Regions from separate parts of the Homo sapiens genome. Here regions 2, 3, 4 and 5 are each linked to region 1. Evidence: promoter capture Hi-C in 16 types of primary human blood cells and fetal thymus (Javierre and others, 2016). All regions are on one chromosome and are shown on one strand. The core of a region is centred on a gene start or on the middle of the fragment in contact, and the rest is flanking DNA. Distances in the headings are between cores, read along the strand shown. Region 1 holds the start of SPDL1 (spindle apparatus coiled-coil protein 1). Region 2 has its middle 54 kb from the start of SLIT3-AS2. Region 3 overlaps SLIT3 (slit guidance ligand 3). Region 4 overlaps SLIT3 (slit guidance ligand 3). Region 5 overlaps SLIT3 (slit guidance ligand 3).

What was found. Contacts are between HindIII fragments. The CHiCAGO score rates a contact against its expected background, and 5 or more counts as called.
Region 2: a fragment that was not itself captured here is called in contact with the fragment with the promoter of SPDL1 in region 1 in 2 of 17 cell types (M0 macrophages and M2 macrophages); the score reaches 6.0 in M0 macrophages.
Region 3: a fragment that was not itself captured here is called in contact with the fragment with the promoter of SPDL1 in region 1 in 5 of 17 cell types (M2 macrophages, M0 macrophages, naive CD4 T cells and 2 more); the score reaches 8.2 in M2 macrophages.
Region 4: a contact is called between a fragment that was not itself captured here and the fragment with the promoter of SPDL1 in region 1, in 2 of 17 cell types (M0 macrophages and endothelial precursors). The highest score is 7.3, in M0 macrophages.
Region 5: a fragment that was not itself captured here is called in contact with the fragment with the promoter of SPDL1 in region 1 in 4 of 17 cell types (erythroblasts, megakaryocytes, endothelial precursors and 1 more); the score reaches 6.0 in erythroblasts.

Annotation. Positions count from the first base shown.
Region 1 is chr5:169,580,354-169,586,385 of GRCh38, reverse strand. SPDL1 (spindle apparatus coiled-coil protein 1) reads right to left here and starts at 2,613. Exons shown (of 12, transcript NM_017785.5): 1 at 2,497-2,613. It overlaps LOC105377714 (a long non-coding RNA gene), which reads left to right and starts at 2,725. Exons shown (of 3, transcript XR_941200.3): 1 at 2,725-3,003. RefSeq lists an enhancer at 1,986-2,986. The HindIII fragment of the contact is 7,098 bases long and covers 1-5,380 here.
Region 2 is chr5:168,649,439-168,655,470 of GRCh38, reverse strand. No RefSeq gene overlaps it. Among named protein-coding and RNA genes, the nearest start is that of SLIT3-AS2, 54 kb to the left of the region's middle. The HindIII fragment of the contact is 4,120 bases long and covers 1,255-5,374 here.
Region 3 is chr5:168,688,948-168,694,979 of GRCh38, reverse strand. SLIT3 (slit guidance ligand 3) reads left to right here. Exons shown (of 36, transcript NM_003062.4): 29 at 2,280-2,373. Among named protein-coding and RNA genes, the nearest start is that of SLIT3-AS2, 15 kb to the left of the region's middle. The HindIII fragment of the contact is 1,109 bases long and covers 3,092-4,200 here.
Region 4 is chr5:168,963,513-168,969,544 of GRCh38, reverse strand. The region is part of intron 4 of SLIT3 (slit guidance ligand 3); the gene reads left to right. Among named protein-coding and RNA genes, the nearest start is that of SLIT3-AS1, 47 kb to the left of the region's middle. The HindIII fragment of the contact is 161 bases long and covers 2,995-3,155 here.
Region 5 is chr5:168,999,823-169,005,854 of GRCh38, reverse strand. The region is part of intron 4 of SLIT3 (slit guidance ligand 3); the gene reads left to right. Among named protein-coding and RNA genes, the nearest start is that of SLIT3-AS1, 10 kb to the left of the region's middle. The HindIII fragment of the contact is 2,106 bases long and covers 2,806-4,911 here.

The DNA.
Region 1 (6,032 bases), core at 1,364-3,863:
GAGTGACCAGTGAGGTAGAAGGAAAACCAGGAGTATGTGTTGTCCTGGAAGGCAATAAACAGTGTATTAAGGAGGTGGGAGTAATCAATCATGCCAGATGCTGCTGCTAAGGCAATTAAGGTGAGAGCAGAGAACTGGCCATTGAACTTGAATTCCTGGAGGTCTCTGGTGACAAGAACAGTTTTGATATCCAGGTGGGGGTGAAAGCCTAACTAGAATGCCTTCAAGAGAGAATGGTAGGAGATAAAGATAGCAAGCACAGGTTTGCTGCAAAGGATAACGGATAAACGGAGCAGCAGTTGGAGAGGAAGTAGGGACAAGTTTTTTTATTTTTAAGATGGAAAAAAATAACAGTGTTTGTAGGTCATGGGATAAATCCAGGAGAGAAGAAAAACTGATGATCTAGAAGACACTGGAGAATTGCTAGTGATGTCCCTGAATAAACAGGATGAAGTTTAATGTAGAGACTGGTTTTAATAGAAGCATGGATATTTCATTTAAGCAAAGTATATGAGTTTAGATGCTGATAAGCAGGTACAGTGGTGGAAGTCTGTGTAAGTAACCTTTTAACTGCTTCAATTTATCAATGAATTAGGAAGCAAGGTCTTTAACTGAGAATGAAGACAAGGGAAGAGATACAGGGTTTAAGAGAGAAAAAAAGGTGTTCTAGGTAATCCCAGCTTGGCAGTCACTGCTCTAAAATGCAAGACCTTTTCAAAGCCTGTACATGATACGGCCAGCCAACTAAATGTTGTACTGTTCACAATAACTTACATTCGTTGAGGATTTACCATTTGCCATGCTAACTGCTTCAAATATATTATCTCATCTAATTATCTTGATGAGCTTGAGTTAAGTAAATACTGTCATCTCAACTACCAAAATAAAAATAGGGTTAACCTCAAGACATTCCAGCCAGGCATATCCAGAGAAGCCAAAAAAAATTTGCTTTAGTTTATTCAAAAAATTTGCTGGAATTCTTATTGTGTGAGACATTGTGCTAGTGTTGACAACACAATGGCAACCTAAAACAATATTCCTGTCTTCTTGAATCCTAGTCTATTAGTAAAAGACATTAAATCAAGTAATTGAACTATCAAGTTACAAGTATGATAAGTGCAAGAGAGACAGATGTATGCTACCTGAGCCTGTAACAAGGGGGAGCTGTCCTAATCTGGGGGGCAGCGCGTAGAAGGGAACATGGACAAAAAAATTTTCCTGAGGAAGTAACTTTTCAGCAGAGGTCTAATGGATGAGAAAGAGTTAACCTATCAATCTACAAAGAGAGATAGCCGTGGTTGATTAAAAACTACTAATGTGTGACAGACATTGTGCTTGGTGCTTTATACACATTCTTTTTTTTTTTTTTGAGACGGAGTCTCGCTCTGTCGCCCAGGCCAGACTGCGGACTGCAGTGGCGCAATCTCGGCTCACTGCAAGCTCCGCTTCCCGGGTTCACGCCATTCTCCTGCCTCAGCCTCCCGAGTAGCTGGGATTACAGGCGTGAGCCACCGCACCCGGCCGCTTTATACACATTCTTATTCAATCTTCTCAACAACTTCAAGAGGTTGAAGGTATTTCCCTCATTTTACACATGCAAGCTGAGGCATAGAAAGTTTTAAGTAACTTGCTTAGGGTTACCCGCAAGTTAAGACGCGAAGTGTGATGGGAACTAGAATCTACCTAGAAACCATGGTGCTGCAACCATTTTTCCTGTCCTGCTTCTCAAAAATATAGCACACACAAAGCATTTGGGACACAGGAAACTCTGGGAATCAAACTGCCTGAGTTCTTACCCCGCCTCCACTACTCACTGGCTGCATGAACTTGGACAAGTTATTTAATTTCTGGTTTAATCATCTATAAAAACAAGCACAATAACACCCACCTAATCGGTTACTGAAAGGATTAAATGAGATAACGAATGAAAAGCAATTAGGGTAGAATCTGACACACGGCTGGGGCAGTGCTGTCCAGCAGAAATATAACGCGAGTCATGTACGTGATTTTAAATGTTCTAGGAGCCATCATGATTTAAAAAGTAAACAAAGATGAAAAATTAATTTACATATTTAAACAAATACACTCAAAACATCATTTCAACATGTAATCATTATAAAAATTATTAATGAGATATTACTCCTTATGCGCTATCTCTGAAACCCAATATGTATCTCCCATCTGCACCATTTCTTAGTTCGGGCTAGAGGCTACCGTACCGCACAGCGCAGATCCAGTGGCGGTTATAATTTTGAGGACCCGGCAACCGACCCAACGTTCCATATTTGTCCAGAATCCCTGAGGGCGGCGAGGTGGTCCAGCGGAAGATAAGACCGGCTCGGAACCCAGTGTATAAGACCCCAGGGTTCCGGGGAAGGAGATGTTTCAGCTAAAGGCCTCGGCCGAGACCCCGGCCCCTAGCTTTCTTTAGGGCCTGTTCGACTCTCCCCACTGCCGCTCTCCACACCCACCTCCCACCAGGCCCCTTGCCCCTACCTCTCACGCTAGTCCCCTGCTGCCGCAGCCAGCGGCTCCTAATGGGAGCTCAGGGCGTCCACATTGAGGACGCTAACTCCACAGTCGCCGGCCCATTCGCTCAGCTAGCTCTCGAGTAAGCGCCTGGGATATTTGAATGCAGTTCCCGCGAGAAGTCCCACGTCTCACGAGACGTCCGCCCAAGCCGCGCGGAAAGGAAAAACCAAGAGAAACGCCCAATGGAGCGCCCACCCCCTCCTACAGCTACTGCGCATGTGCAAGTGGCGCGCCGTGGGCTTGGCGCAGGCGCAGGCGCAGACGTGGCTCCACATAAATTTTTCCTTGGGCTGGTTTCCTGCATGTCTTTTAAGTATTTGCTTTTAGTTTCCGTGTTTTGGTGTTTTGTTTGTTCGTTTTTTTTTTTTTTTTGTTTTTACGACAATGCCTTCTAGGGGAACAGTGTCGCTGGGCTGGGCGGTGGAGAGACACCTTTGGCACCATCGTGCGATCTCATGCACCCTACCAGTGGTAATACTGGCGTTAATATTTAAGTTCCCACCATGTGTTAAAGTTTACAGATTATCTCAGTTAAGCCCGCAGCCTTATGAGGCAGATATTACTCCTCGTTTTCTACAGAGAAAAAGCCCGAAGAAAAAAAGTGCCTTGTCCAAGTGGTAGAACTAGAATTGAATGCAGTCTTAGAGTCCAAGCTGTTTGCATGTGTTTTTAATAATAATATTTTGTAACCCTGATGCCTATTCAAAAATTGAAGCGATCAGAAATAATAATAGATAACATTTAATGAGCACTGATGAGTCCTAGTAACTGTTACATGAATCATGTCGTTCTTTCGAGCCCATCTTTTCTTGCCTATTTGAGAACTTGGCTCTAACTGCTCTTTTTTGCATCTTCAGTTTTTTCTTCTCTATTGGATCTTCCCTATCAGTTCATAAACATGCTGCAGTGATTGCCATAAAATCATTTCATGATTTCATTTTTTAAAAAATCCTCCTTGACACCAATCGGCAACCACCCCATTTGTTTTCTTCTCTTTATAACAAAATTTCTGGGGAAAAAAAATCTTTACATCCATTATCTCCATTTTCTTACCTTTTGTTCTTTTGTTTGTTTTTCCCACTTTAACCAGGATTTGGTCCCAACCAATACTATGAAGTGGCTCTTGTTAGGTTTACCAGTGATTCCTACCTTGCAAAATTCGGTAGTCAATATTTAGTCCTCACTTCTGGTGAAATTTGACAGAGTTGCTTGCTCTCATTGATTTGAGTCTTTATGTCTTGGGATGCCACACTCTCCTTGCCCTCTTCTTCTCAGTTTCTTTTGCAGACTACAATTTCTGCCTGAGCTAAGCCAGACTCAAAGGGTTGATCTGAGCTTTAAGATTGGCAACAAATTGCTCACAGTGTTGTCTCACAGATTTATCTGGGACTCCAATGAACCAGATGCTCATTCATTTGTAATCACACCTATGTTCTTGGAGAAATGAAACAAATACCATTTTCCCTATCACTGAACAAAGATTCCTTAACTCAGGGGCCAGGAAAAGATTGTTCTAGCTTAGGCCAATCATGACTGGCTGCAATTAGGTAATCTAAAATCGATCTGAACTTATTTTTTCTCCTTTGTTACAAGAGAAGGTATACCCTATGTTATTAATGTTTCTTCCTATTCTATTTTAAAAATATGTATTTTAAACTATTAATTGAGTGACTGCAATGTGTTAGGCATAGTGGAGGAATTCAGAGATGTGGTAAACTCGACTATTGCCTAGAAGATGCTCGCAATATAGTAGGAGATTTTAAAAAACAAATAGAACTTACAGGGCTGTAAATGCTATGCAAGTGGTATGTGCCCCACACTAAAGGAGTTGTGTGAAGGGAGAGGTATATTTTGTCTAAATGTTCCTTTAAAACTTCCCAGTGCATGTGACACTTCAAGCAGGGCCTTGAAGGATGGCAGAGCTAAGGAGGGGTGCATTCTAGGGGAGGGGACAGCATTAGGAAAGTCTTAGAGGTTACCCCATGTCATAATAAAGGTCATTCTTTAGGGATGGCCTGAATACAGGACTGCCAATACCACCACTGGACGCTAGATGTCACAAGTGAAATGAATTCTAGATGGGTTCTACTTTTAAGATAACTTAATGGAACTTCTGATTCACAATACCAGATGCAGATCTCCGTACTCAGGCAAGGTCCGCATACCATGGCCTAAATACCAAAGGTCAGGAAAAAGCAAAAAACAGCAACCTTGTATCTGTTATTTTCCATTTACGTAAGGAGAGATGGGACTTGGCCTCCTCACACAGTAGTGGATTCACCAAGCATAGGATGGGAGTTCAGATTCTGGGAAACAACACCCACCTCCCAACTCTGTGGCCCTCAGTTACAATTCCTAATATTATAGCTGTTCAGAACTGGGATAGACTCCTGTAGTGAACTTGTCATCATTTCTTCATTGTGACTGTTCTAGACGAAACGAGAGGATTAGACTGTTACGTTATATTGAAAGCTGCATATATTTTGACAGGAACTTATTGAATGATCATTTGTTTTGGGCATTACAAATGAATAGTCTCTGTATTAAACGAACTTAGAGTTTAGTGGAAGAGACATTTACCAAACAATAAACAGTAAATCCTTACTTAGAGGATGACTTAGACTTTCTTGTTCCTTCATGTTATTAAGTAGAGCTGCAAGCTAGTCATCGCTGGGATCAAGCAAAAACAAGCTCAGGACTCTGAGACACAGAGTCTGCAAATAAGAATGAGATTAAGCTGTAGAGTGCTGTGATTTATAGGATGGGCTGGAATATGAAGTTACGAAAGTTACACTCAAGGTTGTGGTCACTGAAACTTGGGGGATGGCCGAGATGAAGAAAAAAAGCTTTGAGAGAGAACGGAGGGGTGTGTGCAGGACTTTTGGGATTGTCCTAATCCATGGCACAGGAGGAGAATAAGGATCCAACAAGAAAAACAGGAGCCATATGAGAAGAGATCAGGAAATTGAATTGTCACAACTTCCACTGTGATAATTAGATATCAGAATGAATCATTGTACCAGGCAGGTGGGTTTGACTGTTTAATAGTAATAATGATAATGAAACCCAGTCTGCGATCTCTCCTGTATCAACAATGTATAGCATCAGCTTGAACTCTGAATGAGCCTAATAGCTATACTATTTTTTCTTTAAATAGGGGGAATCTTCTCTCAGAGAAAGAGTGCACCATCCCAATATAGTAGACATTTAACAGCTAACATCCTAGCATGAATTCCTTCCTCCTATTCCCACCAAGAGAATTCTGATTATTCTTTTGTATAATTTCTATTTTCTCAATTTTCAGCCATATGAATTCTTTAAAACTGATGCTACCTTTCATCTCTAGGATATCCCGTCACCCTGGTTACAGTAATTGATTCAAAGATGTGCATGTGATGGAATCTAAGCCAAAGAGATTTTTCACTGGGACAGCTGGAAAAATGGATTTTGTTAACTGCCTCTGTTATAGTCTGAATTGTGTCCTCACCTCCATTGCCCCC
Region 2 (6,032 bases), core at 2,065-4,564, 930 kb after region 1:
CTTCTCTTCCGACGGCTGCCGGCCATGCTTGGCATTCTTAGCTTGTGGATGCATTGCTGTCATCTCTGCCTACCTCGCCTTCACAGGACCTTCTTCCCTGTGTGTCTGTGTGTCCTTTTCTATCTCATAAGGATACTTTCACTGGATTTAGGATTCGGCCTAATCTAGCACAATCTCATCTCATATTCCTTTACCTTAATTACATTTGCAAAGACCTTATTTCCAAATAAGCTCACATTCTAAGGTTGTAAGTGGACAGGAATTTTGGGAGAGACACTATGCAACCCACTACAGAACCTAATGTCCTCATTTGAGGAAGCTGAGGCCTTGAAAATTTAAGTGACTTGCCCAACCAAGGTCATACAGTTTTATACAATTTAATGTGCATAAACAATATTAGAGGAGAGGCAGGTGCATGGTGTGATTTTCAGAGACCACGCACCACTGGACAAACCTTCATAGATCAAAATAATAAGACCATCCTGCATGAACAAAGTCCAGAGGGAGCCTGCCCAAAATATGTTCTATAACTTCAACCCATATTTCTCCCTCCTGGGGAACTGAAGGGGGTAGGTGTTAGCACCACAGAAAAATTATCGAAGCCAGAAAGATCAGAGAGCCAGCAGTGTCTTGCCAGCCATCTCTGTAACCAAACACACAGTTTGAGAGAAGCCCCCACCTCCAGTTTCCTCCCCCTACAATTTCCCCTACTTACAGTTCCAAAACCCTGCCATGATATTAATCAGAGAAGCACCCAACCTGGCCCACACTTTATGATGTGTGTCTCCGAAACCTCACCAGTTCTCATGGCCAGGTGTAGCTGTTAGGAATTTAAGTGGCAACTTGATCCTTAGCTGTTTCTCCACGATTTTCTGCCTGATTATAAATACTGCTTTGTGAAAATCCAGCCACACCACAGTCTCAGTCGAGCTGCATTTTTTCGAAACTCAGCTTTCCTTCCTGGGCATACAGCATCTGTTTCCAGTCAAGAGCCAGGGCGAGCCCGGCTTCCACGTGGCCTGCCACAGAAGGCCCAGCCATGGTACTTAAAAGCTCGTGGGCCTCAGATAATTGGCCTCCTAACCAAATTCAGCTGCTGGGGCCTGATCAGAAACTGCTGGGTTTCTTTTTCCCTAAGCCGATTTAATTCCCACCGCCAAGCCCTCTGACCTTATTTTCTTTCTTTCTCTGGCCTAATTCCTGGAAAATGGAGTCTGGAAATACCTAGGGACTACTTGGGTGGGCTCCAAAGCTTCAGGGAGAAGAGATAGGACTGAAGGATGCAAAAGGGATGAAGAGAGAAGCCAGGCACCAAGGCCACATCTTGTGACTCCATTTACAGGAAATATACCGTTTAGGTAAATGCATATCGGTGGCTGCCAGGGGCTGGGGGAGACGGAACTGGGAGTGACTACCTCATGGGTACAGAGTCTCCTTTGAGGGTGATAAAAATGTTTCGGAGCTAGATAGAAGTAATGGTTGCACGACATTGGGAAGGTACTGACACTGAATGATATGCTTTAAAATGGTTAATTTTATGGTATGCGAACTTCACCTCAAAAAAAACAGAAAGAGGGAAGGAAAAAAGAGGGGGTGGAGTAGGATGAGGAAGGAAGCCCTGGAGCTCAGGAGCAAGAGCTACAGAGATGTTCTGGAACAGAACACAGCTAATACTAAATTAACCCCTTGCTTTCCAACCCAATGCCTCAGGCCGAATGCCTAGAGCAGTTTCCCTAGGCACTGTGGCTGAGGAATTGTGCCCTGGGCCAGCTGGTGGGCCCCCTAAAGCTAAGAATGTTCTGCCTCTTCAAAGCATCTGCTCAATCCTGGACTCTTTTCTCTGACAATGTTTTCAGAGGGAGGTGCCCTCCCTATTTCAGGAGCAGAAAATGAACTCAAGTGTCGTGAATTACAGTGGGGGAAAAAATTTATTTTTTTTAAATTTAGGCTTCTCAGCCTTCTTACTCAAAAATACTAAAAATATACATTGCCTTTTCTAAATTAAACTTAATTCCTACTTTGAGCCCCCATCCTGCTTCATAGCAAAAACTTAATTATCTCATTCAGTTCAGTGTCTGGCATTTCTCTTCTCCAGGATACCCCTTGAGTTCCAGGTGCCTCACATCCTGTGAAGATGTTTGCTCCTTGCTGTCTTCATGTATTCATGCCAGCTGCCACGATGGCCTGGACATCTAGACTACGTTTGCTTTAACTCTGCAGCAAATCTTTTCCAGGTCTGCAGAGTCTATATGTCATGACTCTGCTCCCCCTGGAAGTCTGGGGACACCTGGAGGCTGCTATGCCATACTGGCACTACAAGAAATGAGGTGGAGGCCAGGCACGGTGCCTCACACCTGTAATCCCAGCACTTTGGGAGGCCGAGGTGGGTGGATCACCTGAGGTCAGGAGCTGGAGACCAGCCTGGCCAACATGGTGAAACCCTGTCTCTATCAAAAATACAAAAATGAGCTGGGCGTGGTGGTGGGCACCTGTATTCTAGCTACTCAGGAGGCTGAAGCAGGAGAATCACTTGAACCTGGGAGGCAGAGGTTGCAGTGAGCCAAGATCACGCCCTTGCACTCCAGCCTGGGCAACAAGAGCAAAACTCCATCTCAAAAAAAAAAAAAGAAAAGAAAGAAATGAGGTAGAGCTGAGGTTGTTCACCCACTTGTTTGCTACTCTTAGACGCACAGAAAAATCATTCTACTGCTCCCACGTTACCCAGGGTATTGGGAACCCTTCAAGGCTGACTCAGACCCGGGATGGAGCAGCTATTTCACCCCTACTTCTTTTGTGCCATCTTGTGGCACAGGAAGAGATTCGTGTATGTGCCCCTTTCCCAGGTTCCACCTGCAAAGCAGGCACAGTTCTCCTCCTCTCTCCAATTTTCCAAACCTGTATGAGTCTCTGAAGTGGAATTCAAATATACATTTGACTGAAAAGCTCGGGTACTTCCTCCTACACATTACCTTGTTGGAATGTGTGTGTGTGTGTGTGTGTGTGTGTGTGTGTGTGTGTGTGTGTCAGGATCTTGCTCTGTCTCCCAGGCTGGAATGCAGCGGTGCAATCACAGCTCACAGCAGCCTCGACCTCCCAGGCTCAAGTGATCCTCCCACCTCAGCCTCCTGCATAGCTAGGACTACAGGCGTGCACCACCACACTCAGCTACCTTGTTGGATTTAATTGGCACCTTAGAAAGATGTAAATCTTTTGATAGCAGTTGAGGTAAGGAGACTTTCAGGTATAAAAACAGATAATCCTACATAGTGGAGCCTCAAGAGCATTGTTAACAGGGTGCAAAAACAGAAACTGTCAAGCAGAAGTTTGTCAATGTGCCCCTGCCTGCTCTGTGTGCACACATTTCACCAAAGCTCTGGGGTCCGGATAGGAAAGCCCTGCTGGGACGAAGTGCACTTGGAAAGTCAAAAAGACACAGGGGTTTATATAAAAATGAATATCTGAATAATTCCAGGCAATGAACAAACCTTGAAAACATGCTAAGTGAAGGAAACCAAACACAAAAAGCCACATATCCATTTATATGATATGTCCACAGTAGGCAAATCCATTGAGACACAAAGCACACTGGTGGTTGCCAGGGACTAGGAGGAAGTAGAAATGGGGGTGACTAATGGGTCTGGCATTTATTTTTGGGGATGATGAAACTGTTCTGGAACTAGTAGTGATAGTTGTACATCATGAATGTCCTGGAAGTTACTGAGTTACACACTTTATACTTGTAAAAATGGTGAATTACTATGTGAATTTTACCTCCTTAAAAAAAATCCAGGCCAGGCACAGAGGCTCAACACCTGTAATCTCAACACTTTAGGAGGCCAAGGCAGGTGGATTGCTTGAGCCCAGGAGTTGGAAACCAGCCTGGGCAATATGGCAAAACCTCATCTCCACAAAAAAATACAAAAATTAGCCAGGCATGGTGGTGCATGCCTGTGGTCCCAGCTACTGGGGAGGCTGAGGTGGGAGGATCACCTAAGCCTGGGGAGGTCGAGGTTGCAGTGAGCTGTGATCTCACCACTATACTCTAGCCTGGGCAACAGAGTGAGACCCTGTCTGAAAAAAAAAAAATCAAGATATATTTGGGTTTGGTCAGAGGTCTCAGGGAGGGAGGGAGTCTACATTGAAGTAGGGTTTGGGGGTACGCTAGCTTTTGTCTTTGGATATGCAGTTCAGGACAGTTTGTCTTTGGATATGCAGTTCAGGACAGTTTGTCTTTGGATATGCAGTTTTAGGACAGTTTTTGTTATCTCCTAGCTTTTGTCTTTGGATATGCAGTTCAGGACAGTTTGTTTAACTCCATCATCTCATCACTCTAAAAATTTTTGGTGTATCTAGTTCAGACGCTCCAGCCCTTGATAAGTCTTAACTGGAACAGAAGAAAATTCTGAGATTTAGAATTTTGCTTATTTCCAAACAACTGTGAATGTCTAGAGTTGGAGGCAAAGACTTCTAGTCCCAATAGAAGGCACCAATCTACTGTCTGGAAAAATCCTTTAGCCCTGTGTCCCTCTCCTTCTAGCCCCACTGTGAAAGAACATATCATTCTCTAGTCATAATAGTGACCATCGTGGGTTAAAAACCCTTACTATTTGCCAAGTCTGGTGCTAAGCATTTCATTTAATCCTCATCAAAAAAAAAAAAAGAAAAAAGAAAGAAAGAAAAGAAAAGAAAAAGAAAATGGCAAATGGCAATACAAGGTCTCAATCAGTTAAGCATCATTCTTAAGATCACACAGCTGATAAGTGGCAGGACTGGGATTCAAAACCAAAATTGCCTCCAAAGCCCCATCCTTAACCATTATATCATTCTACCTCTTTCCGATTAACCCTGGTGAGTTTTGCTTAGGGCTCTTATCATTGGTTCCTCTCACATTCAGTGGTGTTGAGATTCTAGGGTGAAAATTGAGCAAGAGGTTCAGGATCTGGTAATATCAGAATAGCTTATCAAACTAGCCCTCCCACATGTAACAATTATCTAATCTGGACAAAATAGTTTAACAAAACAATTGCGTTAAAGCACTCTGCAGCAACCAAAAGAAGGCAGAAAGGGAGGGGATCCAACCCTTGAATGAAAGACAGCACATTGAGTGAGAGCTGCGTTCACTGGCTCTTCCCCTGAAGGTGTGTCCCCATCTATACACTGCATGGGGAATGGAGTGGCTGGAAATTTAGGGAGAAAAATCTTAATCCTAAGTGACGGAACCATGGAAGGGGTGCCCTAAAATCTGTGTACCAATTATCTTCAAATCCTTGGCTGACTGCTAAACAGTTCATATGCAGGGTGAGATTGTAAGTTTCCCAGAGGCAAGAAACTGCATCAAGACGAAAGAGTCAAGCCCTGCCAAGGTAGAGAAGCTTTGTAGACACAGCGCCCTTTTTGTTGAAACACTTGCAGGGCCACACCTTAGGAATAAGGACCACATCTTAGAATTTAGGTCTATACCCTAGGAATAAGGACAAAACTGAAAGAGATCCACTCCAATAAAGGCTAAAACTAAGCTTCCACAGGACTAAGATTGTCTGTCAACGATTTAGCCATCTGCTAGGGCAAAACTCAATGCCTTTCAAAGAAAGATAGTAAACTCCAGAGACTCTAGAGTGTGTTACATAGAATAAACATATAGTATAAGCCAGACACAATGGCACATGTCTGTAATCCCAGCTACTGGGGAACCTAAGGCAGGAGGATTGTTTGAGCCCAGGAGTTCAAGACCAGCCTGGACAATATAGTGAGCCCTTGGCTCAATTTCTTTTTAATTACTTGGCATATGATATGGTTTCAATATTTGTCCCATCCAAATCACATGTTGAAATGTAATCCCCAGTGTTGGAGTTGGGGCCTGGTGGGAGGTGTTTGAGTCATGGGGGTGGATCCCTCATGGCTTCGTGCTGTCCTCACAATAGTGAGTAAGTTTTTGAGAGATCTTGTTAAGAATGTGTGGCACCTCCCCCGCACTCTCTCTTGCTCCCACTCTTGCAGTATGAGACACCTGTTCCCCCTTCACTTTCTGCCAC
Region 3 (6,032 bases), core at 2,397-4,896, 890 kb after region 1:
GCTTCCTAGGACCCCAGACAAGCTTCTGTGCTGGGAGAAAGTGCATGGAAATCTGCTGTGGGGGCGGATGCAGTGGCTCACGCCTGTAATCCCAGCACTTTGAGAGGCCAAGGCAGGCAGATCACCTGAGATCAGGAGTTCGAGACCAGCCTGGCCAACATGGCAAAACCCCAGCTCTACTAAAAATACAAAAATTAGCTGGGCATGGTGGTGGGCACCTGTAATCCTAGCTACTCAGGAAGCTGAGGCAGGAGAATCACTTGAACCCAGGAGGTGAAGGTTGCAGTGAGCTGAGATCCTGCCACTGCACTCCTGCCTGGGAGACAGAACAAAACTCTGTCTCAAAAAAAGAAAGAAAGAGAGAGAGATAAAGAAAGAGAGAGAGACAGAGAGAGAGAGAAAGACTGACTGACTGACTGCTGAGGGGTTACCTCCCCTTCCCTCTTTCATCTTCTGAGAGCGGAATTGTAGCCAAGAGTTGCATTAGCAACAGGCAACACTTACTGTGCACCTACTGTATACAGACTACTAAATTAGCCACTTAGAGAGACCAAGAAATCTAAGGTATGCCCTCAGCCCACAAGGGCTTCTGGTCCATGAAAAGAATCACTGTATAGAGTTGAGTCATTGGTCAAGAAGAATCAGCTTAGTGCCAGAAGAGAGATGACAGAAATCCCAGTAGTGAAAATGGAGAGGGCAGTGGGGCTCTAACAAAGGCTTTGTGGCAGGGGAGGGGCTTGAACTGAATTTAGAGCAGGCAGATGGGCAGCAGGAGGGTACTGAGGAGGCATTGATGAAGTGGTTTCCTGCCGCAGTTGAGGCCTACCTGGTGTCTGCCGTTGACCAGGGTGCACTGCTGATTTGTTGCACTTTGGTCCTGAGAGTGAGTGCTTGTATAATCTCATTTAATCTCCACAACTGCCAAAGTCAAGGTCAAGCAGCTAGGAAGTGTCAACTAGAATTCATTCCCGGGAAACTCAGGTACAGAATGAGGCTTTGTGGTTTGCTCTGTCCCAGAAAATGTGCAAGTCCCACACAGATACTTGTCTGCTTCTCTGGGTGTCTCCAGATGACAAGAAAGAGGAGGCTTCTCAGGAACATAGTGCCTTCTGTGGTCTTGAGAGGCTGAAGGCAAAATTTGGAGAGGGAGGGGTTCAGTGCTCCCTCCCAGGACATGGTTGGGGTCAGCCTCTCCCCACCATAGCAAAGAACAGACTTAGGGGCTATCTGTTACTCATTACCCTGCAGCCAGCCCTCTGGACCTACCTGCCTATACCCTGGGAGCAGGAGCTAAGGCAGCTTTCCCCGCCCTGCTCCCACCCCATTCCTGGAGAGAACGTTCATGGTTAGACCTTTCCCTCTCTTAGATCACTCTCCATCTGGCTTGACCTAGTGGAATTTGAGGAAACCCAAAACTCGGATCTTAAAAGCTGGTGTTGCTTGGGAGCTGCTGTCCTGCCTTACCGCCCTCCCCCACATTCCTAAAACACATTTTCAGGTGGTGTAAGCTTTTCAGGGCTTATCTGCAAGGGCCATCCCTGGGTGTTTATGACCGTTAGGTATTTTGTAGCACTGCAGACTTCAAAGGCAATGTGTCTAGAGACCAGAACTTCAAATTCCTTTCATACTTCCTTCCCTGAAAAATCCAAGGGGCTTACTTTTCTGTAACAGGTGAACTGGGCTGCTAAGCCTTGTCTGTGTCTCTGAAGCCTCCTCTGACCTCCTGGGGGAGGTTATGGGTCCCCCTTGTGCTTCCACAAAGTTTGCCCTTCTGGTCACACCTACAAGTCTGTATTGTAATTGCCTGCTTATTTGTAGATCTTCCCAAATAGGCTGTGGGTAGGAAAGGACCCAGTCACTGTTGTGTCCCCAGTGCCTGGCACAGTACCTGCCACACAGGAGGTGCTCAGTAAATAAGTGTGGAATGAAAAAACAAATGAATAAGCATGGCCCAAAGTGAGGGCCAGGCATCCTGTGCTCTCAGCTGCACCTGCCCCTGCCCCTGAAAGATCAAGTAAAACAGCCAAATGGTGATGCTAGGACAGTGTCCAGGAGGACACCTGGAATCTTCCCGTGGTCACTGCCAAAGAAACCAAGGCAGAGGTGCAGGAGGATACACAAGGAGTGAGAACACAGGACTCCTGACGTCCATGCCCACCTGACCAGGGGCTGGATGAGTCTGATCTTCTGGCCAGGATATCCCCCCTAGTACTCTGATCTTCTGGCCAGGGCATCCCTACCCTGCCTGAGGCCTGAGCTATCTCCCCCATCTGTGCCAGGTGAGCTATGCGACGAGGTGATTGACCACTGTGTGCCTGAGCTGAACCTCTGTCAGCATGAGGCCAAGTGCATCCCCCTGGACAAAGGATTCAGGTAAGACCTGGCTTCGTGCCCCCAGCACAGAGTCCATGAAAACTCTGCCTCTAACAGTCTAGGTTTTAGGCAGTCTCTGGTCTCTCTGCATGCTCTCTCTCTCTCTCATGTGCTTCTCTGCATCTCTGATTCAGCCATGATCTAATTATCTCAGTCTGTTTCCCTATGCGTGCCTCTGTCTGTCTGTGGGTGTCTCTAAGTCTCTGTAGATAGACAGGTAGGTAGGGAGAGAGAAAGAGACAGAGAGAGAGAAAGATCCACTCTTTCTCTTCCCTGCCCCTTCTTCCTTGCCTCTCCTCTCCTACCAACTTCCCAGTACTCTCAGCATATCCCTCCTTTCTAGAGCTAAAGAAGTAGAGCAATTCCACTGGGGAAGCAGCGTCTAAAGGGTATTTGGTCACCTTCTCCATGTGCAGCCTTTGCAGTACGCTGCCCCTCCAGTCTACAGCAAGTTTTTCAGCTTATGCACCTGTTGCAGGGGAAGGGGGCAGGAGCACTGTGGTCCAGCAGCATGGCCATTGGCGGAGCTGTCTCCATGGTGAGCAGCAGAGCCCATAGGAGCCAGGGGAGCACGTGAGCAGCCCTAAGGGTGGATGGAGAGGCTGCCTCAGGTCAGAAAGCCATGCAGCTCTTGAGGCTGAGGATCCAATGGCACTCCTGGGAAATCCCTCCCAGGCCCTGTACTCATCTCTTCCTTTCACCTTCCTTCATGAAAGCTTTTGCCACTGCCTCTTCTAGAGAAGATTGTGAGACCCTTGAGACTGGGGGTTTTCTGACATCGAGAGGGAGATCCCAGAACTCTGTGGCCAAAAACATTCTTCCCAACCCCAGTGCTGCCTTCTACACCCAGCTGCCTCCTTCTTCTCCCAGCAATCTCTGTCCAACACCAGAGGAAAGCCACTAGCACCAAGGAGTCAGGGTTTTGGGAAACAGGCAGTCCGGGGCAACTGGAGAGACCCCAGGATGTTAGCAGACCCCATAAATGACCTTACAGAGCCTCCCCTAGAGATGAGGGCCCTGGGCCCAGAGCTCCATGCCTGTGCTGATGAGTCTTTAAGGAGAATGCCCACCAGTGGCATCTCCAGCCTCTGGGGCCAGAAGCTCATGCTCTAGGTCTTGATGGGTCCAGAAGCTGTCATCACCCAGAATCTGTCCTGTTCTCAGTCACAGGGCAGAGAGTTAGACTCTGGGGGTATTTGTGACTATGATTCTAAACAACAAGACTTAGGACTTCAGGGAACCCCAAGATCTCAGAAAGCCCAATCACAGAATCTTAGAAATTTAGAATCATAGAATCTCTGAAACTTGAACTTGTAAGCTCTTAGAATCTTAGAATCTAAGAAGCAGGAGTTCTAGTTGTTGCTCCAGCCAGCCCACCCATCAGTCCACAGATCTTGATTGTGTGGAGTATAGTGGGGATTGGAAGATGGTTTTGATTCATCTCCTCAAGGCCCTTGCCATGGACCTAGGGGAAGAAGATTTGACACTGAGCAAATATTTAGAAAAGAAAGAAGTTCTAGGCCCCACGATTCTGGCTCTGTTGCTGGGGTTCTGAGGAAGGAAAAGGCTGCTGGAGGAGAGAAGCAGCCCCACCCCTTTAGGAATAGAATGTGGGTGACCCTTGAGGGTGGGTGGAATTTGGATGGGTTGAGAGAAGGAAGGACGGCTCCACTGGGGGAAGAAGAAGCAAGTAAGTAAGGGTGACAAGCAGACATGAGCATGTCTTTTATCGTGTCTTCCTTTTCTATTTTCACATCACAAGCCTAGATCTCATCACCAGGGGAAATGCCAAGAGGCTCTGGTTGCTCAATGAGACCAAATGAAGCTTCAGCCCTTCCATGTGTCTACCCCATTCCTATCTACCTCATCTGCCCCATGCCCCCTCAGATATGCCAGGTGGGACTTTTAGGCAGTCAAGTTACCTGAGTACAAGGGTGAGAGATACCTCACAGGACCTCCCCGCCTACTTCCACCCCCCTGATTTGACTTCAGTTCACTGCTGATCTTTACGAAGTATGGGATACTGTGAGGGGACAGGGAAGAATGAAGGGGCAAGGGGTGGGAAGAGACATGTAAATGCAAACGTGAACTCAAAGCAGAGCAGGCCAGGCAAGCAGAGTGCTCTGGGCATGCCCGGGAAGGGGCAGGGAATGGGGATCTGCCCATGGAGAGGAGATAAATTGCCTCTTGGCTGAGTGGACAGCAAGCTCAGAGGACACAGGCTTACACCAGCACTGGTCAGAAGTGGTCTAGGGGCCACCCTGGCCAACATGGTGAAACCCCGTCTCTACTGAAAATACAAAAATTAGCCAGGTGTGGGCACACTCCTGCAATCCCAGCTACTCAGGAGGCTGAGGCAGGAGAATCGCTTGAACCCAGGAGGCGGAGGTTGCAGTGAGCTGAGATTGCACCACTGCATTCCAGCCTGGGTGACAGAGGGAGACTCTGTCTAAAAAAAAAAAAAAAAAGAAAGAAAACAAAAACGTGGTCAAGGGTGCAGGTGTGGGGTTGGTTGGAGTGCTGGAGAGCTAACACTGCCAGGTTTTTATGATCCCCAGAACTTATTCCTAGAAACCTCTATTGTAACTAAAGTTCCTTGAGTTCTAAGACAATATAGGAAAGAATAAAATCAGTCTAGCTTTCATAATCTTGAGATATTGTATTTATATGTGATGTCATTATCTTGAAAAGGTCTACAGGCCAGCTCAATGTTAGTGTTTCATTAAAATGTGTTTAAATCAAAAATTATTCTTCCAGTGCAACATTTTATCATTTTATCTCCTTCATCTCCCATCACCAAACAGCTCATATCCTATGGCAGCCTGTAGGGATATTAGCCAAAGAGATACACAGTCAGGGTGACGTTTGTCCAAGTGTGAAGATGTTTATCCTTGGAGTTCTCCTTGTACGTTCCCTCTCCCTCAATGAGGTCTCAATGAAGGGCAGATACTACCTGTCCATAATACAATAGCCAAAAGAAAGATCACAATGACTAGCATGTACTGCTAACTTATTCTTTGTCAGGCAAGGTGTATTATCCAACATCCAACAATCTTAGAACGTAGAAACTCATTCACATTTTATGAGGCTCACTGAGGTGGCATAAGCCACCTCCATGCACACATATAAAGGGGTGGGGCTGTGAATCAGTCTGGGCCTGACTGATTTCTCAGCTAAATCCAGAGACTCCAGATGTCCTGGAACCAAGGACAGCATGCGGTTACTCTCCCTTGTGCAGAATCAATAGACCCAACACATATTAAAATGCATAAAATTTAACTAGAAGAAAAAGGCAAGCATTTGAGAACAATGGAGAATGCAGGTTACAGCACCAGCTGCCTCTCTTTAGTTGATGGAGAAGTACTATATAGGTCCTTGCTACCAGAGGTTCTTGAACCAGCAGCATCAGCATCACATGGGCGTTTGTTAGGAATGCTAGTTCCCAGGCCCCACCCAGACTCCCTGAATCAGAAGACACATTTTAACAAGATCCCTGGGTGTTTTGTATGCTCATTAAAGTTTGAGACTTGCTGGTATTGAGAGGGCTGTAGCATTTTAAAAGAAAAAGAAGGTCAATACATTTGCCTCCCGACCTCCACTGCTTAGTCTGAGAGTGAGAATAGCTTCCCTAATTCTTAATAAAGATCTCACCAGTAGCC
Region 4 (6,032 bases), core at 1,826-4,325, 620 kb after region 1:
AGGGATTCTCTTCCTGCTGCTCTTTCCCTCAACAGGAGAAAAACAAAAACAAAGTCCTGCAATTTGGGGTAATGTAGATGTCAACAACAGAACCGCCTGTGGCCAAGGATTGCACAGGTTAGCTTTGTCTATTTTCGTCCAGTTAAACGCTGACTCCCGGGCAGTAGGCAGCTCAAAGTACAACATGTCAACTGAGGAGAAAATTAAAGCCAAAAACCTCTGCATAATTTATTCATCACAACCTAAAATTGACTCCCTGCTTGTCTGCATTCAGGTTGAGGCTCATTTAACTGCCTCCACTGTGTCTGTTTAAAGAGAAAATAGAGGAATTGGCTCAGTGGGGTAAGATAAACCAAACACAAAAACGCCCAACAGTTCTTTCATTTTACTCCTCACGTGACTTTGTTCCTCTCTGCTGGTTAAGATGAGAATGACTCTACATCAAAATGATTAATTATTATTATTACTTCAAGTTTGGTGTATCTTGCGGGGGAAAAATAATCTGGAATTTTTTCTGAACAAAACTCCTCCAGACCAAGTTGGAGGAAACTGCACCTATCACCAACAAATAGGCTTTGCCCTATTCGTAGACTCCACCTGGGTTTCCTTCTGCTTCTGAAGTCATCAGTGCACAGTAGACATTGTCAACATTTTATAGATGAAGATCAGAGAGGTACAGTAACTTACTCAAGGTCACACGGCTAGAAAGAGTCAGAGCTAAGACAGACCTAAGTCTGTCTGAGTCAAAGCCTTTAAATTTTCCTGAGTTTCATGTAGATCATGCTCAGTAGGGCAAAGACCTACAGAGGTGTGTAGCCAAGACAGTGTGAAGTTAGGAGATGAATTTGGTAAACAAGAGAGGATACTCTTAGCTTTAGAAGACCAGTTTTGGTTGACAGGTGAGGTGGGAGGCAGATTGCTACTGGATGAGCATGTTAAGTTTTATGTCATGTCTCCCCAGTGAGATTTTAAGCTCCTTGAAGACAGGTGCTTTCTAAGGGTATACACAAGTTCATAGGAGGATTCCCTTTGTAATGAACCCAACAGGGCCAGATACAAAGACACCTTCCAAAGTTGGCAGCGAGACTGTTGACAATGATGGCAGTGAAGAGTGGTGTCTGCCAAGGTGACAACAGGGATGGGATTCGTCTCTCTGCTGCTGTCCAAGTGTGAAGTCTGGAGCTCCTATGCCTGCCATATTTGGGAAGAGAAGGAGCTTGAATTCCAGGGTAACAGGGAGAGGCAATGAGAAGATTTACACGTTGTGTTGGGAGACCCAAGAAGAGTAATGATTAAGCAAGGGCATGGGAGGAGAGGGGGGCGCTAAGCTTGCTGATAAGGATGGTGCTGAGCAGTTGCCTTAGCCTTGCTGACCCGGGAAAGCAGAGGGGGAGATGACTGGAGAGAAGGAATGGCATATTTAATGGGAGGGGAGAGATAAATCATTCTTAATCTTTATGTTCAGGGAGGAGAATGGTAAGGAATCTTAAAAACCCACTCTCCTTTCCAAGGCCTGGGGAGAGCCATGAGGAAGGAATTTGAATGCCTGCCAGAGCAGGTGAGCAAAGCTTGGGAAGAGAATCTGGTGCAGGCACGAAAGTGCTAGCAGGAGGTACGAGAGTGTCTGAAATCTCTACTGGAGAGTGCAGACATCATCTTTTCTGCCAGCCTTGCATGGTGGGAAGTAGAGTGGGAACCCGAGGCTTTATTCTTCCTGCAGATGAAGGCTGACCACACCAGATATTGTGATTGTAGAGGGACAGGTGCAATGAAAGGAATGAAAAATCCCTCAAAGATTTGAGATGGGCCGGGCGCGGTGGCTCACGCCTGTAATCCCAGCACTTTGGGAGGCCGAGGCGGGCGGATCACGAGGTCAGGAGATCGAGACCATCCCGGCTAAAACGGTGAAACCCCGTCTCTACTAAAAATACAAAAAGATTAGCCGGGCGTAGTGGCGGGCGCCTGTAGTCCCAGCTACTTGGGAGGCTGAGGCAGGAGAATGGCGTGAACCCGGGAGGCGGAGCTTGCAGTGAGCCGAGATCCCGCCACTGCACTCCAGCCTGGGCGACAGAGCGAGACTCCGTCTCAAAAAAAAAAAAAAAAAAAAGATTTGAGATGGCAGTGCCAGAGGAATGCAAGGCAGCTTAGAAAAATTATGACGCAAGTGTTATATATTTACTGTAGAGAAGTTACATGAGACAGAGAAGCCAAAAAAGAAAAATAATTTAAACTCATGATTGTTCACCTAGAAATAATCACTAGCAATATTTTGGTGCAATTTTACCCCAGTGTGTGTCTCTCTTATATACACATGCACACACACATTTATAGCATTGGATTATACTATATGTACTCTTTGGAAACCTACCTTCTCACTTTAAAAATATATACAGAGCATTTTTCCAAATTCATAAATAACATCCTTTTTAATGGCTATTGTTCTTCCATTGTAGTAGGTGGGCCATGACAACTAGCTCCTACAGTTGGGAAATTTAGGTGGTTTTCAATTTTTTCCATCATCCAAAGTGCTCCAGGGAACATCCTTGTACATATATTTTTGGGGGGCTTTGTCATATTATTTCCTTAGGAGTAAAGCTCTTAAATAAAAAGTTATGTGCACGTTAAGAGCTTTTGAAATATATTGCCAAATTGCTCAACTGAAAGACATTACCGGTTTATATTCCTTCCAGAAATGCATGAGAGCACCTGTCTCTTTCTGTCCTCACGTTCATGGGGGATCATCATTTAACAAAATGGTAGATGCTGTTAAAGTTGGAGAGGCTGGAAGGAACACCATGACCTAACTCTGACTTGCATCTCTCTTGCAACTCTCCAGACAGAAGAGGAGTAGGCATGGGGGATATTTAGAGTGCCCAGAAATAGGTTTTGCAGAATCAAGCAACATTTTGGAGGATGCATTTAAGATATGTGTGAGGGCAGTGACTAGGAGATTCTCTCACCACCAGGTGTAATATGTAGACTCAAGAAGAAGCTTTTGTCCCCAGAGCTGACATTGTAAAGACAAGGAGGGCAGTCCCATGGTAGCATACCAAGAGGCAGCACTGGGATGGATCCCTTTAGTTCTCTTTCAGTCTCATACCTCCTGGTGCCCTGACCCAGGCTGCCCCTTCAATTCCAAGCAAAGTCCCAAAGCTTTGCCTTTCTCTTATAAAAAATCATGCTGGCTTCTAAAATTAAAAAAAAAAAAAAATCCAGCGAACCTCTCAGACTCTTCTAGGCAAATGATTGAACTTCATCTGGGTCCCATTTGAGAAGAGCAGGCATATAAAAATCTACATACATGGCACAGATAAGATCGAGAGCTCACCTGGGGAGACTTACAAGTGTTTCACATTCAAAGCACATGTCTCTAATGCTAATCAGATAACTGTAGAGTTTAATTCTTACATCTGGCACAAAACTCTTGCTTTTATGTTGCCTATTTTTTCCCGGAAGGTAATAAAATTCACAATCGTATCTCATAATCAATATAGCATCTCTTCAGGCACTTCTGCACATTATGACTGCCTAAGCTTTGGCCTGCTTAGGTAAGAGAACCACACGCTGTTGCTTATTTTTCCTTGTTGAGATACTCAGCTCTGAGGTCTTGCCATCTTGTGGCTTAGAAAGCAGATCTTGTTTCTCCCACTAAACAGGGTAGGATGAAGTACAGAGAGAGAGAGCGTGCGCTGGCATGAGTTCACAATTGGAGAGGTTGACACCTCACAGTACATCCTAACTGGGATTGTTGAGCTATTTACCTAGAAACCAGAAGCACCAACTCAGAATCAAGTGGAAAGTTTGCCCTCGGAGAGACAGTAAACTTTTAGGTGTCATTGCTGATAAGCGATAGAGAAGAATTCTGTCTGTACTTAGGGTAGGTGCATAATAGCAGTTTGCTACACTGGTATGTCAAAGTGCTGTTGGCATGAAGTTCATTTTGGATGAGCAAAAGATACACCAGAAGAGACCCATGTGTGAGTAGGCAGAACTCATATTTTCCTAAACTAACTTAATATTGGTCAAAATGCAATGAAAACCACAAAGATGTATTTTGGGGCTATATGGGCAAAGTAATTTAGTATTTTATAACTTTCTCAAGTTCATATTTGAGAGTAACAAGAGCAAAGGTCCCATCAAAGCCTGAACGTTTGCTCCTTAGCTATTATGATTTCAAAACCCATCTTTCTGTTTTAGATCCACTTAAAGTGAGTATCTTTCCTTGTTGAAGTGAGCAAAGTCGCCTAAACAACATGTTTATCTCTCAAATGCTAGGAGAATAGGCTTATATCTTAAGTTCTAACCATTTTTTCTTCCAATAGATATTTATAATCATAGGAGTTTTCTCTTTCATAGTACAGTACCCTAAATGAAGGAGATCATTTCTACCCTTTGAGAGTGACCCAGGTGAGCTCAATTGTTCTGAGATGAACAAAGTCCCACATACAGCATAGACTGTGCTGAGACAAGCAAGGTGCCCAGGGTGCACCATTTAAGGAGGCCCTCTCTCTTTCAGGGATGTGAGTGCTTCCTTAGAGATGTGCCCTGGGTGAGTCTCAGACACGTCTCCCTAGTCTTGGTTCTGGTCCTGGTTGTGACCTGCAGACTGCTTTTGGACACATCAACCATACCTACTATCTTTTAGAGCCTTCTTCACTGGAAATGTATTAAGGGCCCTAGTGGGCATCAGGAAATGTATTTTGCAATGTGTGCAGATGATACAGAGCAGGCATGCCTTATGGCAAAGGGGTCCCTTTGCTTATCTCCAGAGGGTTCACCTACTAACAACTGAGATTGACTGCAATTTCTTTGATGCTCATCCTGGCTTATGTTATATCTTTGCCTCAGTTATAACATTTGGGCCGAAAGATTCAAAACAAATTCTATTAGGTGACCCGAAGGCTGAAAGGTTGACTGTGTTTAACTGGATTATTTTACATTTTCTCAGTTTGTGCTTTATTTATACGCAGTAAGTTTCACTCAATCCACCTGACTTCTTACCTTTTGTCCAGCTTGAAAAATGAAATGAGTTTGGGCTTTGGCACTATGTGTTTCATAGGCTCCTAATCTCTCTTTGTATGTTTTGTTGGCCAATAATACGTAAAACTATGCCCCAGGCTTTCTTGAAGTGCATGTAAATATCTGCCTCTCTCTTATCTCCCATGGTAGTAATTCATCCAGGAAACTTACTTCCAACAGGTTAGGTATTAAACTCTCCCTCACATAAATCCACATTGGATGTCTCTGATCAAATTATAATTTTCAAAGTATTCCATCACTATGTCCAGTTAAATCGTTCCTAATATTTTCCCATGACTGGGTGACTTTTTAAAAAATCTTGATTGTGCTACAGAAGTGTTTTCCCAAATGCTTTATTAAGACTTGCACAAATGCTCACCATTTATCAGCAGGAAGTGTTTGCCTGCTTGGAGGAAAATCAAACTAGTAAATTATTTTATTTTATTTGCTTTTATGTAGCCCCCTGCATTTCTGTCCATTTGGGCTGCCTTCTTTGAGCTTGCTATTATAACTAGGGACAACTCCTCGTGGCCTCATAAATCATAATCGTTGATATTTATTGCTCAGTAGGTCTTTTAAAATCCAGTTGGAGGGGTTCCCTCCTCCCTTAAAACTCTGCCTTTTATTTTGCTTAAGGCACTATGGTAGGAAACTGAAACATATTTTCCTGGTTTTTACTTAAACTAAATGTAAGGCAAGCCTTATATAAAGCCAACAAAAGAGAGCCTGAGGTTTGAAGATGAAGGTCAGCCTCTTGGTCATTGATTCGACAAGTTCCAACCTGGCATTTGCAAGGGTTTGTCTCGCAGCAACTGCCTATCAGACGCCTATGATGGTCCAGACTCTGAATCAGGTACCTAACACACTGCTAGACAAGCAAGGCTTAGTCTCTGCCCTCGTAGAGTTGACAGTCTAATCCAGGGGTCACTGATCTTTTTCTGTAACACAGCAGATAGTAAATATTTTAGGCTTAGAATAGTCCCTGTCACAACCACTCACCTTTGCCTTGTGTG
Region 5 (6,032 bases), core at 2,609-5,108, 580 kb after region 1:
TTGCCTTTGAAGCCTTTTGCGCTGCGTTTCCCCCAGAGCTCCAAAGGCGCAGAGTGCCAAAGGCACAAGTACTCACCAGCAAGGCAAGTATGATGTCTGCCCTGCTTGCTGCTGTACCTGAAACTCTAGTATAAAGTGTCTGGAACATAGTAAATATTTGTCGAATGAATGAATATTACAGCTGTGTCCTTTGCTATATCCTGATTATGTAGCTGAAAGATGAAAGTAGGGATATACATACTGGTAATATCATGAGTGTCATTTGCAAATCCTTTCCAAATGGTGTTAAACTGAGTTGAATGTATTGTCTCCATTCTCATTCAACCTTGGCCCAGGTCATCAGGGAAGATGCTGGTGGTGTTGCTGATGATCATAGCAACCACACTGGTTATAATGTTTACCGTTCACCTTGCCATGGGCCAGGAACTCTCCTATACATGTTACATGCATCATCTCTCAAGTGTTTGTAGCCACTCCATAATGCGGACGTTAGATTCTCTGTTTTACAAAAACTGAAGCTCAGAGGCTGTTGTAGTCAGCTCAGGCTACTGTCACAGAATATAGGCCTACCTGGGGGATATTATGGGTTCCATTTCAGACCACTGCAAACAAAGTGAGTATCGCAATAAAGTGAATTACACAAATTTTTTAGTTTCCCAGTTCATATAAAAGTTATGCTTACACTGTTCCATAGTCTATTTTGTAACAGCATTATGTTTTAAAAACAATCTGCATAACTTAATAAAAAATACTTTATTGCTTAAAAATACGGACACAGAAACACGAAGTATTCCTGCTGTTGGAAAACATGACACCAATAGACTTGCTTGATGCAGGTTGCCACAAACCCTCAATTTGTAAAAAAGAAGAAAGCTCAATAAAACAACGTGCGCCTGTACCATAAACTGGGTGGCCTAGACAGCAGACACTTATTTTTCACAGTTCTGGAGACTAGGAGGTTCAAGGTCAGGGTGCCAGCATGATCAGATTCTGGGGAGGGCCTTCTTCCTGGCATGCAGCTGCCTTCTAGCTGTATCGTCACATGGCCTAGAGAAAACAAGCTCTCTGGACCCTTCCTATAAGGGAATTCATCCATCATGAAGATTCCATCTTCATGACCTCATCTATACCTAATTCCTTCCCAAAGGCTCCACCTCCAAATACCATCGTCTTGGTGGTTAGGCTTTCAAACATGAATTTTAGTTGGACACAGACATGCAGTTCATAGCAGAGGGGTTACCTGTAGTCCCAAAGCTACGTAGCTAGGGAGACGCAGAGGCAGAATTTTCACTCAGGTCTGTTGAGCTGAGTCCAAAGCCCCTTCTCTCCTCTCTGCATCACGCTGAGCAGTATCATACTCAGCGCTTGGAGGAAGGCCCAGAGGGCTCAGTAAAAGCAGCTGAAGAAAAACAAATTGGAGGGAGTTTATTATGGTTGATCTTAAAAGCCTTGTAATGACCTTATTTTCTCCAGAGGACATTCTGAAAGCCAGTGATTTACCCTGGCAGCCCAGCTGGGGGAAGATGTCCAGGCAGCCAGTTCCCCCTACCTGTGCCTCTGGGCATGGCAGAACCGAACCCAGCAGGGACTCCCGAAGGAGCCATTCCCATCCACTTTTATTTCTCTGAGATGCACAGAATATCAGCCCTTCGGGTTTCGTGTTGTTCTGTTTTTTGGTGTGTGTGTTTTTTTTTTCCCAAAACAGTCGTGGGCTTCTAGCCAAAAGTCCTTTCAATTAATGGACTAGGAACAGCACCCATGAAGAAAATTAAAAACAGATAAGAAAAGAAGGGCCTTCATGCGCAGAGTAGAGGAAGGGAATAATTCTTGGATTATGCTGATGATTTACCAATGTTTTCCTAACGTGAGAATCAGTCAGCAGGGGCCTGGGTTTTTTATGGAAGAGGAACCTCTTCCAGACAGCTCACTCCACAACAGGCCTGATAAATCCCCACATCCCCACTTCCAGCGAGAACGCTGCCCCCTCCAGAGCCACCATGTCAAAGCCTGTTTAGCTGTTCCTTACTTATCAGCCACAACCCCAACATTAGTTCATGCTTGGAATATGAAGCCATTTCATATTTATTCTTGTTATATCTGGCAAGAAGCCTTAAGGAAAAAAAGAGAGTCCCCTGTTGGTGCTGTTCAGCTCTTATATCTTTATAGTCTCCCAAATTGATTTGACAGGGCAATTGCAGGCCATGGGTGAGACGAAACTCTTCTCTCAGAAAAGTCTGGGAGACTAGGCACAAATACACAGCCCACTCCTTCAGCTTCTGCCCTGAGCCTGTGTTCACGTCTGTGTTCACATCTGTGTTCACGGCCACTCTGGCCCCTGCAGACCAATGCCATAGAGTTTCCTCGTGTCAATTTTCTGGTAGGAGCCTCTGAAAAGAACTAGGGTATCGGAGGAGACGTTAGCAATGGAATTCACCACAGGACATTCTAGAAGCTGAGCAGGGTCAGACTCCCACAGAGGGTACTGCAGACACTCAGTAGGACTTCAAGGCCACATGAGCTTTGGGAAGATGTACTGAGTGCCCTGGTCTGCCCAGAAGCTAGGGCCCATATTCTGCAAGCCTCAGATGGGTCAAAAGAGTTTTAATCCAAGGAATAGTGACAACTTGAAATGATATGCAAAGTTTGTTTGTGCGTGCTCAGACACACTGAGTATTCTAGGAAAAAAGGACTAGATTTTACTGCATACATATGTAGATACATACTGGTAATATCATGAGTGCCATTTGCAAATCCTTTCTAATGGATTTAGTAGGTAAACAAAGGAATCTATGACCCCAGTAAGCTTAAGAACCTGTGAGCGAAGGCAGCCTTCCCCCAAAGAATAAGTGCCCCACTGGTAGTTTGAGATGATTTTAAGTAAGATTCAGACAAACTTCTTCTTTTACTAGGCATATACTTGTTTTCATACAGTTAAAACCTATATGTAACTAATATACCAAGTTTGTAATTTCACAGACATTGCAGATCAAGGTGAGGATAAAACAGATGTTTAAATAAGAGTCATTAATGGATAAGGTAAAACAAGTAAACAGTAGTACAAGTTTTGTGCCTCTATGGCAAAATTAGCTAATAGTGAGAAGAGACTGCTAAAGTTAGGGAAATACTTTGATCAAGGAAGAAAAACACGGAAAAATGTAGTCCTCATCCCCTCTTGTCCCAAATACTGAGATGTTTCTACATTAGAGCCCCTGTTTCTAGTCTCTTCCACTGGTTGCCTGCACACCATTGCCATTCCCATACTCACTCACTCCACGTGACTTTCCTGCTCTAGACTACACAATGGCTCCCTGTGGCCATCACATTCTGTCCACACTCTCTAACTGGGTTTGCAAGTCCATCCTCCCACCTGATGTCATCTCCACTATTTCCTAGTTCTGAAACTCTTCACTTCCCAGACCATTCTTTTCATTGTCTGCTCCAAATCTCCCCATCTGCCCCATCTGTACTCATTGATGCCCCATTGCTTTTTCTTTTTTTCTTTTTTTTTTTTTTTTTTTTTTTTTTTTTTTTTGAGACAGAGTCTCGTTCTGTTGCTCAGGCTGGAGTGCAGTGGAGTGCATCCTGGCTCACTGCAACCTCCACCTCCCAGTTCAAGTGATTCTTCTGCCTTAGCCTCCCTAGTAGCCGGAAGTACAAGCACACACCACCATGCCTGATTAATTTTTAATTTATTTTTATTTTTAGTAGAAATGGGGTTTCACCATGTTCACCAGGCTGTTCCCGAACTCCTGACCTCAGGTGATCTGCCTGCCTCGGCCTCTCAAAGTGCTGTGATTACAGGAGTGAACCACCACACCAGCCACATTGCTTTTTCCTATAATTACCTTCATACCCCCATGCTCCCTATTCCTCTTTTGAGTCCCCTCCTCTCCCTACTCTAAAAACCTACCGTTTGCAGTTCCCACCAATGTCTCCCTTCTCTGGAGTACTGCTGCCCTGCAATTCTGTATGTCAAGGGGAAAAAAAAAGGAGGGAGACTTTGGTTAATTACCACTTCACTTGGCACCAGGAAGGGTAGGCTAAGAGAGGAGCTATAGCCAGGAGTCTAAAACTTTTCTTTTGGCTTGTTTAAATTGTTGACAAAAATGGGATTAGTTTGAGATTAATCACTGAAAAACAAGGGAGATAAACTCCTGGGTTCCAGAGATATTAATTCCTTGGTTCTCATCCCAGCTTAGGTTATCAAAACCAAGAATTGTTCATTTTTCACAGTTTATGAGGTTTATCTTTGGCCTGTCATGAGATGCTGACAGAAAAATGAAATTGGTCTGTTTCTAGTCTATTTCACTTTCTCATTCCCACTCTCATAACAAGTCAAAATGTTCCATTGTAACACTTAAGGAGGGAAAAAAAAGACGTGACCCGCCTATGTGCCTGTACTTCTTGTCATTATTTGGTGTTTTTTTATTCTAAATATTTTTATTGTTCAAGCCGAACTCAAAAGATAGGTGCCTCTCCCTTCATTTCAAGCAGAAAGTGAATTTTAAGTACTTAGTAGGAAAAGTTGATGGCAAATTAATATGTGGGGGTGGTTTGAGAACTTTTCATTTTTCTCAGGATAAGGCAGACAAGACAGGTTCAAAATACGGACAGTGGCGATGAGCTGGAAGTGAGAAGTTTCCTCAGAAAGGGCTGAAAGGGTTGGCTGAGAATTTTTTTTCATTTCATCCTCATCAGATGCTCATTTATAAAAATAGCAAAGCACTTGGATAAATGTGAAAGTGGTTTGAAATGTGAAAAGTACTATGGATTTGCAGAAAGCATCTTTTTCCCATTGAATGGGATTATTTATGTCCCTCTGTCATATCACAACTTTCCTAACAAATAAGATGACAAAGTAATAAACTTCTTCCAGGGGAGCCATTCAGTGCAGAATTCACTAAGAAAGCTTTCCGACGCAACTCAAATAACCGCTTGGCAGGAAAAGTTATTTGAGAGAGATTTTAGAACTGAAAACCCCAAAAAAGAACATCTAGTATAAATTAAATAATGCTTCAAGAATAGGTTGTCGGGTCAGTTGTAATTGAATAGCCAGCCCATCAGTATTTATCAGATGCTTACTGTATGCTCAGAGCTCTAATAACTGTCAGCCGTGTATCTTTCTTTCTGTTGCTGTTTGTGTGAAGGTAATTTCTGACCATTCTTCAGTGAGTTTGATACTGACCAGATCTATCACGTTCAACTCTGTATCATATTATTAACGTCATGCTCTGACTTCTAACACCCTTAAGTTTTTGTTATGAGTTCTTATGTAAAATTTTTGTTTTACATAAGATTATTGTTTTTAGGTTATTGAACACTTTCTGTGAGTTTTTTATTGTTCTTCTCTTTGAGTAATTCTTCATTGTAGGCTTAAGCGTTGATGCAACTGAACTTTCCATTTCAGAAAAGATTACGTTAATATCCTTTACAAATCTTTTTTTTTTTTTTTTTTTTTTTTTGAGATGGAGTTTTGCTTTTGTCACCCAGGCTGGAGTGCAGTGGTGTGATCTCAGCTCACTGCAACCTCTGCCTCCCAGGTTCAAGCGATTCTCCTGCCTCAGCCTTTCGAGTAGCTGGGACTGCAGGCACACACCACCATGCCCAGCTAATTTTTGTATTTTTAGTAGAAACGAGGTTTCACCATGTTGGCCAGAATGGTTTAGATCTCTTGATCTCATGATGCGCCTGCCTCAGCCTCCCAAAGTGCTGGGATTACAGCCACCGCACCCGGCCATAACTTCTTAATAATGATCGCAGCATTTGTTGAGCACTGATTTTTTGTCGTCAATAATGATCGCAGTATTTGTTGAGCACTGATTTTAGCAAGTGATAGGCATTACTTTACTTCTGCTATTTCCTAAGAAGGATGGGGATACCCAGACCCCAAGTGGAAAAAATCATGAAGGGTCTTTGGGTCATCTCCCTACTCCAAGCCATGAGCCACAAGGCCATCGAGCTCAAGAGGAATGACTGAGCAGTCCAGCAGGTCCACTTTTGCATGGGTCTTCCCGTGCAAAAGCTCCCAGGTG